2 separate regions of the Homo sapiens genome follow, and region 1 is linked to region 2. The links are contacts of gene promoters, found by promoter capture Hi-C in human tissues and cell types (Jung and others, 2019). All regions are on one chromosome and are shown on one strand. Each heading gives the region's core, a stretch centred on a gene start or on the middle of the fragment in contact. The rest is flanking DNA. Distances are from core to core; before and after follow the strand shown.

Region 1 (4,370 bases), core at 374-2,873, 1.3 Mb before region 2:
TGCCTCAGGGACTCTGGGAAGTCAGCTTTGAAATCATGTGAGACTGAGAGAGAGGGGCCGTTCCTTGGGAAATCCAGCCCACAAAGTAATCAGGAGATGATGGGGGGACGGGAGTGAGGGAGACTGGATTGTCGGGTGCCCAGCTCATCTGTCATCTGGCCTTTGGGGACAACATACTCTCAAACAGATCTTTGCTCTCAGTATTTGCACCAAGGGGGACAGGTGGCACAGAATTAGCCACTTGAAGTTTTTAGCCTGTAGATGCCAAAAGGGGTATTGCATTCTCGAATTTGCCAAGAGTGGGAAGAACATGTGCAATGCTGTTGGCTACAGAGTTTCAAAGAGAAAATAAAATGGCCAGGGGCCGTGGCTCACGCCTGTAATCCCAGCACTTTGGGAGGCCGAGGCAGGTGGATCACCTGAGGTCTGGAGTTCGAGACCAGCCTGGTCAACATGGTGAAACCCCGTCTCTACTAAAAATACAAAAGTTAGCTGGGTGTGGTGGCGTGTGCCTGTAATCTCAGGTACTTGGGAGGCTGAGGCAGGAGAATTGCTTGAACCTGGGAGGCGGAGGTTGCGGTGAGCTGAGATCGTGCCACCGCACTTCAGCCTGGGCGACAAAAGTGAGAATCCGTCTCAAAAAATAAAAGAAAAGCAATGAACCCAAATGCCTCTAATGCGATGCTATGAATTTCACATGATCAGAGGTTGGTAAGTCTGGGTAAGTGACATGTGGCTGGGATGCTGCCAAGGGGGACCCGCCAGCAGACAGTCAGGGTGGGCTGCAGTTGCCTGCAAGTTCTCGCTTTGTAGGGCTCCTAAAGGTTGAGGATTCTGACCTCACACATCCCTGATTCCACGAATAGAGAGGCTGCCCTGTGTGTACAGCTGCCCGGCTAATTAATTGCTTTTATTTGTAGTAAATAAACTCTTCAAATGCAGGAGGGCTTCCACAGGAGCTGGCCAGCGGCTTTTCTCTCCTCTTTCCAGAGGGGATTCCACCTCTCTCTGGGTCCACTCTGTGACGCCAAGCAGATGACAGAGAAGGGATTAAGGAGGGAAGGAAGGATTAAAAAAAAATTTAACATCTGAAACCAAGGCTTGCCATTCAGCGGGCATAAAGCCAGGGTGTGCAGGAGAAACTCTTAAAAAGTCAGCCAGCGGGTATTCATATGGGGCAGATGATATTCCAGGTAATGCTCCGAATGAAAATGATGTGCATTCAAAAAAAAAAATCATGTGCCTATGTGTTGAGGTCATCAGAAGCCAGTAGCTAAATATATCTCATAGGTGATGAAAATGACACAGTTCCTTTCTCTGTCCATTGTGGTGCTGGAGCCAACTATTGCTTCCAGTTGGAATGCCAACTCACTAATTTTCGTAAAACATATAAATATCAGGTGAGGAGGAGTGCTTGTTATGTTCATGAGTAGCACATTTCCTGGTGGCTCGTAGAGGATGTCGATCAGCCCTGGTGCCGTCAGATGGTGGGTACAGCAGCCCCCAGTGGGGTGGGTTGATGCATTTCCCACATACAGCAGAGAAAGCCATGCCAGCAAGACTGCAGCAGGGTGTCCCTTTGGCCAGTGCTAGGGACTGTGTTGAATTACCATCTCCCTTGTGAATCTTTCCTGTGGCCTGAAATTCATAGCATTCCTTTGGGTGCAGTTGAAGAAGAACAAATATTTGTGAAGCAGTTAGAGTGGTGTTGGGTAGAAATGAGCACTTGAAATTGTATCACAAATATGAGTGAATCTGGTCTAGGAGTGTGCACTACTATCTATTGGTTACATACTGCTCATTCACAAATGACAACTCATACATATTATCTCACATGTTCCCTGGGTCAGGAGTCTGGGCACAACTTAGTTGGGCCCTGTGCAAGGCTGAAACCAGATGTTGGCCGGGTCTGTGATCTCATCAGAGGCTCAACTGGGGAAGGATTTACTGCCAAGCTCATGTGGTTGTTAGCAGCATGCATTTCCTTGAAGGCTGCCTGACAGAGGGCCTCTGTTTTCTGCTGGCTGTCAGTGCCTTGCCCTGCAGCCCTCTCCAAATGAGAACTCACAATAAGCCAGCAAGGGAGAGAGTACCCTAGCGAGATGGATGTTACAATCTCATGTACCGTTATCACAGAAGTAACATCATCACCTTTGCTGTATCCTGTTGGCTAGAAGTGAGTCATGGGTCCCACCCACACTCGAGGGAGTGCACCATCTAAGACTGAACACCAGGAGGTGGGGACCCTGCCTGCCTCCTTAGAGCATGTCCACCACTGCGGTCATTTGCTCTCTTTGGGCAGTTCCAAATAATCACTAACATTTATTGACTCAACAGGACTGTGAGCCAGATGCATCTCATTTAAAACATCTTATGTAATCCTCATAACAACCGAGTAGGTATGCTCCTATCCTAATCCTCATTGCACAGCTCAGAAAGACAATTCCCAGAGATGTTCAGTAACTTGCACAAGGCTACATAGCATGCATTCAAACTGCACAATCAGGTGCACCTGCCCTTAACTGCTTCATCCTAGAAGGCCAGGGGCAAGCTGCTGACCAAGACCTGGACTCTGGGAGACAGCTCAGTGCCATGCATTTGCCAGCTTTCTCAAGTTTGGAAGAGAACCATCCTATTTCAAACTGCAGCCTAACACTTGGGAAACCTGCTGCCTGACGTAGTAATTTCTCTTGACAGTACTCATCACCATGGGATCCACTGTGCACTTTACACATTGGATTCTCTCCTGCTTGTCTCCTCTCCTGGGACCTGAACTCCAGGAGGGCAGTGGGTTTTGTCCCATGTCCCCAGCTACTAGAACAAAGACCCACAAATAGCAGGCACAGGAGAAATATCTGAGTGATGAATGAATGAATGAATGAAAGTTATTTATATTCTGGAATCTTTATTAGGGGCCTCAGATCATAAGTGACCTGAGGACTTCAGGCTGTCTGCATTAGATTAATGTGGCCACCATAAAGTACTACAAACTGGATGGCTTAAAATGATAGAAATATATTACCTCATAGTTCTGGAGACTAGATGTCCAAAATCAAGGTGTTGGCAGGGCCATACTCCCTCTGAAATCTGTAGGGTAGAATCCTTCCTTGCCTCTTCCAGCTTCTGGTGGTTGCTGGCAGTCCTTGGTGTTTCTTGGCTTATAGATGCATCACTCAAATCTCTGCCTCCACTTCACATGGCCTTCTCCCATCCACATGTGTCCTTGCCTCTTCTTATAAAGACATCAGTTGTATTAATCAGGGTTCTGCTTAGAAACAGAACCAATAGGGTGTGTGTGTGTGTGTGTGTGTGTGTGTGTGTGTGTGTGTGTGTAGAGAGAGATACTTACAAGGAGTTGGCTCACATGATCAGGGAGGCTGAGAATCCCCAAGATCTGCAGCCAGCCAGCTGGAGACCCAGGAGAGCTGATGGTGTAAGCTCTCATTTAATACTGTAGAACTGAGAACCAGAAGAGCTAATGTTATAGTTCCAGTTCAGAAGCTGGCAAGCTTGAGACTCAAGAAGAGCTGATGTTTCCGTTTGAGTCTGAAGGCAGGAAAAGACCAATGTCCCAGCTCAAAGCAGTCAGGCAGAGAGTGTTCCCTCTCTGTCAGTCTTCTATCCAGGCCTTCATCTGATTGGATGAAGCCCACCCACATTACAAAGAGCAATCAGCTTTACTCAGTCCACTGATTCAGATGTTAATCCTATCCATGAACACCCTCACCCATACACCCAGAGTAATCTTTGACCACACATCTGGGCACCCCGTAGCCCAGTCAAGTTGACAAGTAAAATTAACCCTCTCACCAGTCATTGGATTTAGGGTCCATGGTGATCCAATATGACCTCATCTTAAATACATCTTCAAAGTCCCTATTTCAAAATAAGGTCACAGTCTGAGGTTCAAAGTGGACATGAACATGGGGGGACACAATTCCACCCAGTTACACCCTCCTATGGGAGACAGAGGCTGGGTAGGGGTTGGGTTATGGGTCAGCCGGCTTTCTTTCTTTTCTACCCTGTAGTGCTCAGAGCCTTGCCCCATAGATGTTTGTGAATGAATGACCATTACAAAGCTGGCCTCCATCCAGGCCACTGATGTCCACTTATCTCTCATGTAAAGCCACCCTTGAGTCTGGTACATATGCTGGGCATAAATGACTTCCCAGAAAAAGGGAATTAAAGCTGTGTTTTCAGGTGCACTGGAGTTTTTATATATAAATGTATAAAATTTGTTTCCATTCCAGTAAGAATGGTGAAGTTCAGTGTCGCATTGCTACTTATGATCTTTGATTCCATCCCAAACATCTTTCTAGTGGTGTTTTTTATATGGACTTTTGGCTGAAGTAGAGTAGAAATGGACTATT
Region 2 (4,052 bases), core at 1,060-3,559:
TTGCTCCTTTCCACCTCTGCTCTGGCCTCTAGGAGTCAAACCAAATGCTCCCTCCTCAGAGCGAGAGCCCCATCCCCCACCTCCGGCTGCTCCCACACAGGGCAGGTGACAGAAGAGCCACCACGCTTCACCAGGGCTGTGCTGTAGTCCTGCGAGACTGTGAGCTCCATGACACCAGGCTGGGTCTTCAGCAAAAGTCTTTTAAGGATGAAATACAAATGCCCTGGAGGAAGTGCAGAGGGGCCTTTGGGGCCAAATCAACAATAAAAGAGAAAATCGAGAAGGCTCCAGGTCTTGAACCCAAGAAAAGGGTACAGTGGGCTCTCCAGGGGAAAAAAAAAAAGAAGAAGAAGAAAATACACCCACTTTTAATGAGCCCCTGATGCAAGACAGGAACTCACATTCTATGGTTACTATTCCAACAACTCTGCCAAATGAGAATCATCATTATCGCCATCTTACAGATGAGAACACTGAGACTCAGAAAGGATAAACAGCCAATCCAAGGTCACACAGCTAGCTATTATAACTAGCTATTATAATAGTATTATAGATATAATACTGTAAGCTATTATAACTACCTCCCACTACCTCAATCAAGGAGGCCAGGAGAGGCCAAGGGAGAAGAGAGGCCCAGAGGGAAAAAGTAAGAGCACCAAAGGAACCCAGGGCTAATGCTGTCTCCTCTTTAACTTCAGGACAGATTCGCAGCCTCCCCACCTGTTTCCAACCTCCAAAATGAGAGCTGTGAAATCTCCTTGAGATCTCTGCTTCTGCTGATCTATTCAGCAACTATTTCCCGAGCACTTGTGTTCCAGTGCATAAGAAGGCTGTCAAATGTGCTGTCTTCAAGCATCTAGAAAGCCAGTGGGGGAGAAAGACAAGAAAGTGACTGTGAGCAGCAACAGGCCCCCGGGAGGGTGCAGAGGTGAGCAGGGCTGAAGGAAGATGCAGGGGGTGGGAGGCGCTGTCAGGGTCCGGGAAGCCTCCTTCCCGGAATGGAAAATGTGTAATGCCTGAGACCCAGATGCCTTGGGGAGCTTTTGGGGAAGCAGAGGTCTGATTAAGCACTGCCTGGAATTCCCTCATTCATGAGCATTCTTTCAGCACCTACCCTGCGCCCGGGAGAAACGGTCTTGAACACAGCAGACAAGCTCGCTACCCCCATAGAATGTAAAGAAACGGGGCACAAATTAGCATACAAAAAGACACAAGTGTGACCTACGGAAACTGCACAGAGGAGGTGCAACGAACGGAGCCCTGGGTTAGGACCGGGAGGCGCTGCCCACCATCAACAGAAATACTCCTCCTTTTGCCAACTACACACGCGAGAGGCTGGATTTCCTTCACAGACGTCCACCAAAGCCACACATCGCGACACACGGAGGCAGAAAGCAGCGGTCTCCTAAGAAGTTAGACACGAGGAATCTCGGGCAGCGAGGTGCCTGCAAGCCCGGGGGCGGGCGGGAGCAGCCTGCACGCGTGGGGAAGGGCACGCGGGAGCGGGTGGCGCCTTCCGGGCCGGGTCGGCCGGGAGGTTCCAAGGCAGGAAAGGGGCGCAGAAGGCCGGGACGGCGCCGGGTACAAAGCCTCGCAGGGACGCCCGAAGGCCGCAGAGCCACCGCGGGGAACTGACAGCCGGAGCCGGAGCTGGAGCCGGGGGGCGGGGAGGAGGGGCGGAGGGGCGCGGCCAGGCGGGGTCCGCGGACTCCGGCCTGGGAAGGATGCGCGCGGACTAGGGCGCGGGGAGCCAAGGCCCAGAACATCGGTACCGCGCTCCCTTCAGCCGAGGGGCTGCAGAGAGGCCAGGGGGCAGGGGGCAGGGGGCAGGGGGCAGGGGGCAAAGGGCAAGGGCAGAAAGGAACCCACGTAGCCAAACGGCACCCAGCGGCCCCGACCCCAAGTGTCCCGACGAGGGGGGACGCCTGCGACTAACGCGGGGACAGCCCCCGCCGCGCGCCACCGCCGCACCCCAGGCACCGGGCCCCCACGCAGGGACGGCGTGGACCACCCTACCCCCGAACCCCGAGGCTCTGGCCAACACTGAGGCCCCCTGTGCCTCGAGGCCGCGTCCAACCTCCCCCGCGGCGCCGGCCCACATGGTTCCGCCCGCCGCGGGCCGCGTTACCTAGGAGACCGACCCGCCGCGGCCGCGCCGGAGGCCACGGAGCCCACGCTTTTCAGAGAGTCTCCACTCGACGGACCCAGAGGCCCGGCGGCCGGTGCTCAACGGAGCCACAAGCCTGAGGACCGAGGACTGGCCGAGGGGCGCGCCCCGTCCGCTGCCACCCGCGGGAGGAGCCTCGGAAGGCGGCGCACCGCGCCGCACACTCAGTCCAAGAACCCGCCTCGCGTCACTGTCGCCGTCAGGGCCGCGGAGCCAATCAGAGCCCAAGTCGAGGGCTGCGCTTTGCGAGCGCCAGCCAATCGGTGCGGCGGCGGGCCCATCCTGATTTGCATGTCCGACGACCCCTCAACCAATGGTAATGTGACTGGCGTGAACAATAGCCAATCAGAAGCTGGAAGAGGCGTGGCCCCGGGCGTCCCACGAGGTGAAGATGCTGCTGGCGGAACCTGCAGGAGCTAGCGGGATTCGGGGGCGCTAAAGTCGCAGGGGCAGGGCGGGAAGGAAGATCCGGCGCGGGGCACAGGATCCGGAGCTGGAGCCCCCAGGTGAGTACCGGGGAGACCCCGGCGGGGCGCGCTTTCCACCAAGCTGCTCCGGGACGGCGGCGGCGGGTATCCGCGAGGCCCGCGCTGCGGCAGGCGCCGCGGTCCCGTCTCCATCTCTTCTTCCCCGGCCCTGCGTCCCTGCCTCCGCCGCTGTCTCACCTCCTCTCCAGCCTCCTCACCTCCTTCTCCATCGTCTCCCTTCCCCCATCCCTTTCTGTCTTTCCTTCCCTGTCCTCCCGCCCGCCCGACCCTTCAGCTCGCATCCCTGACCCCTGCCCCTGCCGCCGTCCCTCTTCCCGGTGCACCTCTTCCCCATCTCTGCCCGCTCCGGTCCTAGCAGCCTCGCCCTCCCCTTTCCTCCATCCTCCTCTCATCCCCTCTCCCGGCCTCTGCGCAGCCCCACCGGGGCGCTGCTGTTCCCGGTCCTCCCCATCTCTCCTCCTGATCGCTTCTCAAGGCTCATCCGTCGTTCTCGCTGCCTGTCCCTGTGTCGCTCCGGTCCCTTTCCCCACCCTCCCATTCTGCCCCCAGCCCCTCCGACCTCTCCCCGCGGGCACGCTCTCACCACCTTACCCTGCTCCCCAAGACTGTGACCCTGCTTCCTGCACCAGTTCCTCGGGCTGTTTACAGCACACACACCGCCACTTCTGACCCTGAGCCCCTACTCCTATCTTAAGCTTCTCCCTCCTGCCAGGCCTTGGCACAAAGCACTTCCGCACCTCCCTACCTGCTGCTGCTCCCAGGATGCAAAGACCCCACTGCTGCACCGCGTCCTGCGGCATTAGCAGCAGCCGGGGTACCTGCCCACCTTCCCACCCCGCCAACCAGCCGCATCCTGGTGTCCCTCCTCCTGGCATTTGTCCTGGGGGCTCTTACAGGGACTGTGCTTTGCCCGCAGCATCCCGGGGTGCTCCAGGTGGAAAGCCCCTTAGCACCTTTCCTCCCTGGCCACCGTCTCCTTCCCTCCCCACCCCCACTTTCCTGCTCAGCCTCACTTTGTGATTCAGCATTTTTGGGGTTGGTAACTTTCTTGCTTCCTGTCGTGATAGGGACCTGGCTACGGAGCTGAAGGCAGGGGTCTTGACCCTGCGGTTAGCAGGGCCACCTTAGGAACCAGACCTGAGCTGCCTGGTTGGGAGGGGGCTGAGGAGCTGGGGACCGCCACTGGGGGTTGTCTTTTCCTCCCTTTCATTTGTCTGCCCTGTGTTGAACTGTGTCCAAGGGGAGATGACATAAGTAATAGCTCTTGGGGAAGTGGGCTATTAGCATTTATGGAAATTAATACATCCACATCCGAGGAGCAAGAACACCAAGTTCAGGCCACAGCTGTCCCACTGTCTGTCGTTTCAGGATTTTTTCTTTCTCTGCAACTTCTCCTC

The links. Contacts are between HindIII fragments. The study calls those that stand out against the background at their distance.
Region 1: a fragment that was not itself captured here is called in contact with the fragment with the promoter of NPHP4 in region 2 in 1 of the 25 tissues and cell types used here (dorsolateral prefrontal cortex).

What each region holds. Positions count from the first base shown.
Region 1 is chr1:4,676,520-4,680,889 of GRCh38, forward strand. All of the region lies in intron 1 of AJAP1 (adherens junctions associated protein 1), which reads left to right. Among named protein-coding and RNA genes, the nearest start is that of AJAP1, 24 kb to the left of the region's middle. The HindIII fragment of the contact is 5,641 bases long and covers 1-4,370 here.
Region 2 is chr1:5,990,116-5,994,167 of GRCh38, forward strand. It overlaps NPHP4 (nephrocystin 4), which reads right to left and starts at 2,310. Exons shown (of 30, transcript NM_015102.5): 1 at 2,129-2,310. It also overlaps a transcript of KCNAB2 not described here. RefSeq lists enhancers at 879-1,733, 3,610-3,659 and silencers at 1,810-1,989, 2,140-2,309, 2,350-2,529, 2,610-2,859. The HindIII fragment of the contact is 9,165 bases long and covers 1-4,052 here.